Regions from separate parts of the Homo sapiens genome. Here all the other regions are linked to region 2. Evidence: promoter capture Hi-C in 16 types of primary human blood cells and fetal thymus (Javierre and others, 2016). All regions are on one chromosome and are shown on one strand. Each heading gives the region's core, a stretch centred on a gene start or on the middle of the fragment in contact. The rest is flanking DNA. Distances are from core to core; before and after follow the strand shown. Region 1 has its middle 110 kb from the start of FAM124B. Region 2 holds the start of SERPINE2 (serpin family E member 2). Region 3 has its middle 130 kb from the start of FAM124B.

Region 1 (2,700 bases), core at 110-2,609, 250 kb after region 2:
TGCTCCACTAGGATATTGGTCCGTATACCTGACTACCACATACAATGTACCCTGTCTATTTTGTAGTCATTGTTAGAGATTTTCAGATATTTAAAACTACCATCCCTCCAGGAAATCATATTTCCTTAAAAATAATACCAGAAGCTTCCAAAATACAGCAAGCACAGGTTATTTGAAACAACTTCCAAGAAGGATAACAGATTCACGCTTCATGTGTACTCTATAGCTACAGTTCACACAGTAGGTATAACACAATTATAAAAAGTGACCCAGATCTTGTCTCTAATCTTGTCAGAAGACACGAAATGACACCACTTCTGCTCTGAAAGCCCAACTCTCTGGTCTAAATCAATTAACCACAATTGTCAAAGACCATCATAAAGTCTTTGATTTTCTCTTAGCCGGCCAATGGGGAATTTGTACTAGAGCAAATACTATTATCCCACCTATATAAATACTACAGAGCAAACAGAACAGTCTATCACAGAGCTTTCTTTAAAAAATCACCTGTCTCTCTAAAACAGACCCAGCTAGATTCTGGGATATGTTTTCTTGCCTTGCTATTATAAGGTAGGGCATAGTTTCAAGATCTATTACAAAGACTAATAATATTTTGTTTCTAAAATTGACTATGCTACATTTAACCAATATATCTGCTGCAGAGCTTTAAATGCTACTATACAGCCGTTGTCTCTTCAATATGTCAACAACTCATCCCACAGCACTATGAAAGATTGATCCTGGATCACTAGATTATGTTCAGTGAGCACTATTCTAATGCTAATTAACAAAACTTGGCAATGCTGAAAATCTGGATATCATAGGTCAATGTGTTATACTGTGACTTCATCTGTCCTTGGCCAAAAGAGGAATGGAGAAATTAAAAACAAACAAAAACAAAACAAAACAAAACAAAACAAAACAAAAAACTGCCTCTGACATTTAGAAGCTGGCCTGGCACTTACAACTATTCCATGTTTTCTCCTGGGTAAATAATCTCCTAAATAATCTCACAGAAATTCAATCTCAGACAAGGTTACCCTGAAACCATGATAAAAAGGGACCAAGAAAGGCCACTTCATAATTTCTTAATTTTGTCTAACCACAGAGAAAAACAAGGTCATCATGTCACCTACAAAATACCAAGCCTACTCCCTTTGAATCAAAATGAATAACTGCTGTTTCTCCCCACCATGTGGATAAGGTTTACTGAGATACCCAAGTCTCCCCACTTCCTTAGACTCCCCCCAAATTACTCCATCAAGGTGCAAATTCCATTGTAGATTCTAACACCTTTTTACTGAGATGCCCCATTACCCCTATGATGTATGTTCCCTTGGCTGCAATGAGTAATAAATTTTATTTATTTAACTACAGGTATATTCCTGGTAGTCTTTTGCTGAAGTACATTCACATAGGTAATGTCAAATTTGTTTTGCCAAACAAATTGATTTTTCTAAAACAAAACTGTTTGTTTCATGACCAGCATAACTCATAGAAAACCCTATCGCGATTTCAAAGCTAGATCAATGAATAAAGACTTGTAAATAGATCAGTGGTGGGGTGGTGAGCCACAGGACAATTTTGAAGGCTCCATGCTCGTGGCTAAGTCAAATTTACAGACACATCATTTAACAGTCAGTGGTAAGAAATTTCATTCTTTATTGACTCCTCTCAAAAAAGATTAAAGCGATTCGAGCCTAACCTAAATTAAAAACTTCTCAAAAGCCTCTGCTTCCATTCCCCTGCGCTCCTGCTTGGAAATCTTGTATAAGACAAATCCTAGACTCTCTTCTACAACCCAAACACGAGGGCTTCTTCTCCTTCTGCTCCCAGCCTTTTATTATGTAAATCAGCTTAGCCTCTTCCGCATTGGTCTCAAAAGGGTCAGGAAAAAGGAGCCAGGCCAATGAAGAATTTCCATTAGCATTCGGGGGAAAAGGGGGATGTGCAGAACATTCAGAAGTTAATCCTCTTTTCCCCCTCCCTAAACAACTGATTGAAGGATAATGAAATCAAGAAATTAAGTCTGGCAAGAGTTTTCAACCTCATGAAGATGATCTGTATGGCAAACTGCTTTAATTTCACTCAACATAAGTTATCCCATATTTGAAAATTATTTTGTTTCCTTAGAGAGATTAAGAAAACCCAGATTTAAAACTATTTATAGGATATCAATTATTGTTAACACCCACACACAAACCTAAGTTTCAAATGAAGAAATGTAGCCATGATGACATTACTAGAATGTCACCTCCCCATCAAAAGTTAAATGACTTAGAATCCAAAATCACATTTGTGGAGTCACAGCTAGAAAGAGGTTGGTGGAATTTTAAGTAATTATTGGACTGTCATGATAAACAGTACCAAGAATTATGACTCATATAATAAAGGTATCACTTCACTGACACTAATCACATTCTCAGGGTTGTAAAAAGCAATCCTTACTTCTTACTTAAATGGGAATAAAAGACTTTGACATTACATTGGATTTTTCATAACCTTCAGGGGTACTTTTTAAACTTCATTTGATTTGCTTGACTTTATGGAATGAACAGTTTATAAACAAGAAAACAAGCTTTTCGATACACCATCTGCAGTGGAACCACCATCAAAATGCAGATTTTTACAAAAACTCTTACAGAGAAGACCATCACCCTGGAGGTTGAAACTTCAGATACAATAGAAAATGTAAAGGCC
Region 2 (2,700 bases), core at 26-2,525:
ATTTAGACCTTCAGATAGTGTTGAAACTGTCTTCAATTTTCGAAGTGTGGTTTAGGATATACAAATTAGCAATGTTGACAATTCTTCCAGTTATCTGTGCTCAAGTTTTGATATAAAATCTTCAAAGTACACAATTATCACATATATTGTTCCACAACAATTCAGACAAATAAACGGCTTCTTGGCTTGAAAGAGGAAGTCACACCTTCGAACACCTTTTTATGCTGATGCTAAATATAAGAACGTCCCCTGCAAAGTAGCCAAAGCAAGACAGCAGCATTCGAGATTTCTCCAGAGACACACACACAAAGAATGTGTTTCGTTCATTAAAACACTAAAACCTTCAACAGCATCTTCCATAATACCTGAAGGTGGAGTGCTGTCTTATGTAATAGAAGCCTTCCTTCCCCGCTCAGTTTGTGGACACATTAAATGCCTAATTCCTTCCAGAATTTCTGAGTACCGTACTTTCATTTTACCTGCAGTCACTCATCCGCCTCGCAACTCCCGTTTCTACAGATGATGAAAATAGCAAAGACCTGCTCGCTCGGGTTAAATCGGCTGCCAGAGGCCAAGTTAAAGGCTTTCCCCACACCGCGCGTCACCTCCCTCTGCCCAGGCAGAGGTAACAAGTAAGAGTGCGCCAGTCTCTCCCCATCCGGCGGCGCGCAGCCTAAGTCCGGGGTAGGGGTTGCCGGCGAGCAGCTGGAAACCTCAGGTTCAGGGTCAGGGCCGGCTCGGATGGCCGGGCAGGAGCCACGCCGGCCCCGGTGCTCCCAGCTGCGGGTATCACTGGACGCCACCCCGGGGCGGCCCCGCCTTGCCCTGCCCGGGTCCCGCTCGGGGCTCCCGGCGGGCGGGACCGGGATGCCCGGCGAGCACCCAGCCCCGGCCAAGGCGGCCCGCGGGAGGCTGAGAAAGTTCTCTGCTCCCCGACGTCGGCGCCCCAGGGTCCCGCTGGCCCCGCAGCTTCCCGGCCGGGCGCAAGGTCAGGGAGCAGGGCCGGTGGCGCGCGGAGCCCCGGGGAGCGTCCCCCGCCGAGGGCAGCGCCGGCCGCGCCCGGGACTCACCGCGCAGCCTGTACTCACCGCGCTCGCTGGATCCCCAGGGGGCGGCCGCGGAGGGCGGTGCGGCCGCAACCGGAGCGGGAGCCTGGTCTCGGCGGCGCGGGGAGTCGGAGGACGCAGCCAAGCGGCGGCGGCGAGGAGGGTCACAGCCGGAAAGAGGCAGCGGTGGCGCCTGCAGACGCCGCGCAGCCCGGGCAGCCCCACAGCGCAAGCTGGCTGCCGCGGCGGCGGGGGCTTTATCGGCGGCGCCGCGCGGGCCCCCGCCCCTTCCTGCCGCCCCCGCCCCCGGCCCGCCTTGCCCCGCCTTCCCGCCGCCTCCTTTGTGTGGCCGCGGGCCGCAGCGTCCCCGCGCCCGGCCTCCAGGACGCCCCCTCTCCGCCTGCGACTTCTCGGATGCCGCCCCGCCAGGGGTCCGTGTCGTGGGGCTGCGCCCGGAACGCGCCGGGGAGACGCGCAGACCCCGAGGTGCGGCGCCAGCCCGGGCCCAGCTGCACGTGGGTCTCCCGGATGGGGGTGTGTGAGGTGGCGGGGGGAATACCAGGGCTCGTACCGCGTCCCTGAGACGCAGGGCATGTCGTCTTGGCTGCCCCCTGGAAGAGACAGAGGGCGCCCTGAGACAGCGCTCAGTCCTCCGGGTGATGGGGAAACGGTGCCAGGACGCGGCCGGGAAGGGGCAGATAACCCCTCGAGGCGTTTTGCAGGGTGTCCTAGAGCTGACTTCTCCCTGCCTAGGGGACAGAGGAACGGCGGCAAGTCGCCTTAGGCAAATACAGACGAGGGGAACCAGAAAACTGGATTCCCGGCTATGGTGATAGCATGAGGTACCCGCAGCGTCCTGGGAACCCAGCCCTTCTCAGCCGGTAACCACTGCTGCTGGGACCCGGTGCGCGATAGACAGGCACATACCCCAGGGGCCTGCAACAAATGACCGTCCCGCTCCGGGCTCTGTTACCTGGACCTCTCTTAGTTGGTTCCTCCTTTGCCTCTAGTTAGGTTTCTGGGGACCCAAGGACCCAACTTTAATGACAGTAATTTATGTAGCCGTTAGTGTAGAATCGTCGCTAGCAGGCAGACGGCCCCAACAGCGAGGAAGAAATGTAAATCTCCCTATACACAGCCCTGGATTAAGGGTACAGCTACTGATGAGAGCCACTTGGAAGATCAGCCTGCAGTCACCCCTTGGCATGCAGGTGGCCGTGCCAGAGTGTGCACGTGTGTGTTGGGGAAGGGGTTGCTCTGAAAAGTGTAAAATCTGGACCAGCCTAAGGGTGTTCTCAGTCTCTCATAGAGGGAAACAGGCTATGGGAGGCTTGGTCCTAAAATAAGGAGCAAACAGTCTACAAAAATGAGCATCTGTTTAATTATTTTACAGTCATACCAAATATTTATATTCAGTTACAGGGTAACTTTCTTATTCTCTGTGCCTGAAATGCTTTTTGTCCCAGGATCTTCTATGTTGTCTGCATCCTTACACTTGAGGTCACAACTCAAATGTCCTCTCCCCTAGGAAGCCTCCCCTGACCACTTGAGATAAAGTCACTTTATCCCCTCTAACCTATGACTTCCTTCATAACCCTCATCATGAATTGATTTTTTTTTTACCTTGTTTCTTGCTAGTTTTCTTCTACTCTCT
Region 3 (2,700 bases), core at 60-2,559, 240 kb after region 2:
TAGAATAAAAAATCATATATTAAAAAATAGCTAAAGAAATGTAGATGTCTTCATGAATGCACAATTTCAAAAAGTATTTCAGCGATGGGTACCATGGGGGAACTAACAGTACGGGGTCAGTTTGGATGGGAGGATGGTATTCTGCTCAAAGGTTGATGCATTAGTTCTGAGGGCTGAAAATTACTTCTCTAGTCTTAGTCATGTAAGCTTGAGCCATCAATATTTTAAATCCAAAAGATGATGGGATTGTAACTAGAGGATCTCTAAAAGCCCTTGCACTAATGAAATTCTATGACATGTCTCCAGTCTGATTTGTCAAAACTTAATTTTGACATATTAAAATATCATTCAGACACTAACAGCTCACTTTCCCAAGTTCATATTTCACTAAGCCCTTTATATTGCTTATTCTCCACTTGTAGCATTGTAACCTATCTACAGAACTTAATTCTTAAAGAAAGATAGAAGCTGAAGTCCATGTTTCGCATTGCGGAATGTAGAACATGGGCACAGTGTGATGCTTTAAAAAATCAAACCACACTCCCAAAGCTCCTAACAGAAGTGTATCTGGATTGATAAATTAAATGAATGAGGTATGATATAACATAATCTGTCTAGTTTCAAAGCACACATAACAAGTGGGTATGGTCTTTTCAAAGAAGCATCCTTGAGAGATGGCTCCCTCATCCCAGAAGTGTGCCTCAGCCATATACAAGTTATTTTTGGAAACTGCTTTTTTGAATTGCCATTAGAGACATTGCTCACTGCCCTTAATAGTGATAAAATTTTTCCTTTGTATGATTTTTTTAAAACAAAGAAAAGTCACTTAGCTCCAAGTCAGATGAGTTAAAGTGGGCAACTGAGCCGTAGAATTCCACTTTGATCCAAAACGTGAAACGGTGAGCTTTGTTCTCCAGTGTGCAAACTGACTCTAGGGCAGTTCCAAATAAGATCTAAGGAAAGTAAATGTTTTGAATAATGACAATATTATAAGAATAAGTATGTCACCTGCTAGGATGATTACTCAAGTACACACTCTAGGCTGACTGACACATAGATAATACTTTTTTCATTTTCTTTTTTCTTCTTCAACTTTTGTTTTAAATTCCAGGGTACATGTGCAGGATCTGCAGGTTTGCTCCACAGGTAAACATGTGCCATGGTGGTTTGCTGCACAGATCAACTCATCACCTAGGTATTAAGCCCAGCATCTATTAGCTATTCTTCCTGATGCTCCCCCTCCCCCCACATCCCCACAACAGGCCCCAGTGTGTGTTGATCCCCCGATGTGTCCACGTGTAGATAATTTTTTAACACCTACAATACCAAATTAAATATATGTGGAATTAAAACTGGGGGCCCCTCTGCTATGGTTTGAATGTATGCATCCTTCCAAAATTCATATGTTGGAAGCTAACCCTCAAGGTGATGGGATTACCTTTGGGAGGTAATTAAGCCATGAGGGTTCACCCTCATGAATGAGATTAATACTCTTACCAAAAGGGCTTGAGGGAGTGAGGTTGTCCCTTCTCCATCCCTTCTGCCATGTGAGGATGCAGCAACAAGGAGCCATTGTGGAAGCAGAGAGGAAGCCCTCACCAGACACCCAAGTCCACTGTCACCTGGATCTTGGACTTCCCAGCCTCCAGAACTGTGAGAAACAAGTTTCTATTGTTTGTAAGCTACCTCAGTTATTTTGTTAAGGCAGCAAAAACAGACTAAGACCTTCTCCATGACTATAATTCTCTGTGAAATTCATCATTTCAAAATGTTTTAAAGCCTCCATCATGAGCCATACCCTGCGTATAACAGGCACACAAAGAATAAAGACAATTACTACTAATAAAGCAAGACAGAAGCAAATAAAAAGTGGAGCCAGTCCTTGAGTTTAAATTGTTATTGTAGGGCCTCAAAAAGAAATGCTTTGGTAATAGACAGTGACAGCAGGCTGAAAATTCCAGAGTATGGTGACAGGGCTTTTAAGAAATAAAACTTAATTTCTGAACAATGTTTTGAAAAATTAATGGAATCTATCTAAATATATTAGTTCCATGATTAAGAGACAAGAAAAGTTTTCTAAATTATATTTGGAGTAACATCTTGAATAATTTGCCACTTATTAATACCTCTAAAGCCAAAATAAAAGCTCTATAGACATTTAAGAAATTTAGATGTTTATCTTTCTACATGTTTACTGCCACTAATTATAACTCTTTACACTTAAATTAATGTTCAAATCTCTCACAATCTATTTTTACCCTTGGGAGAAAAACTACTTTGTTAACCTAAGTTATTATAAACATTCAAAGGAACTGTTAGTTGTCAATTTTTTAAAATACGATAAAAATAATCTATTTTAGTATCCTAGCTTTCCCAACTTGAGAAATACTCAAAAATACACAAGGTGAACAAAAAGCTTCCTGAATGATTTTAGATGCTTAAAAGCTTAGGGAAATAAAACTGCTAATATACATTACAAGTTTTTCTTTTTTGAATCTTTGTGTGTACTGAGGCGAATTAGAGAAAAATATTTTAAAAGCAGGAGAAGACAAAAGAGAACAGTACAGGTGATTACATTTTACCTTTAACAGAAGTCTCTCAGTAACGCATTGCACACATTTACTCCGGCAAATATCTTTAATTTCCACTTAGGAGAATTTAAAGGCCCTCAAATAGAATTCACATTAGGTCAGAAGTTAT

What was found. Contacts are between HindIII fragments. The CHiCAGO score rates a contact against its expected background, and 5 or more counts as called.
Region 1: a fragment that was not itself captured here is called in contact with the fragment with the promoter of SERPINE2 in region 2 in 4 of 17 cell types (megakaryocytes, naive B cells, endothelial precursors and 1 more); the score reaches 6.5 in megakaryocytes.
Region 3: a contact is called between a fragment that was not itself captured here and the fragment with the promoter of SERPINE2 in region 2, in 2 of 17 cell types (endothelial precursors and total CD4 T cells). The highest score is 5.4, in endothelial precursors.

What each region holds. Positions count from the first base shown.
Region 1 is chr2:224,292,314-224,295,013 of GRCh38, forward strand. It overlaps the pseudogene LOC100289117. Among named protein-coding and RNA genes, the nearest start is that of FAM124B, 110 kb to the right of the region's middle. The HindIII fragment of the contact is 2,434 bases long and covers 143-2,576 here.
Region 2 is chr2:224,038,011-224,040,710 of GRCh38, forward strand. SERPINE2 (serpin family E member 2) reads right to left here and starts at 1,276. Exons shown (of 9, transcript NM_001136528.2): 1 at 1,089-1,276. It overlaps LOC124907991 (a long non-coding RNA gene), which reads left to right and starts at 1,392. Exons shown (of 2, transcript XR_007088103.1): 1 at 1,392-1,532. RefSeq lists a silencer at 1,442-1,736. The HindIII fragment of the contact is 11,785 bases long and covers 1-2,700 here.
Region 3 is chr2:224,274,860-224,277,559 of GRCh38, forward strand. No RefSeq gene overlaps it. Among named protein-coding and RNA genes, the nearest start is that of FAM124B, 130 kb to the right of the region's middle. The HindIII fragment of the contact is 2,209 bases long and covers 206-2,414 here.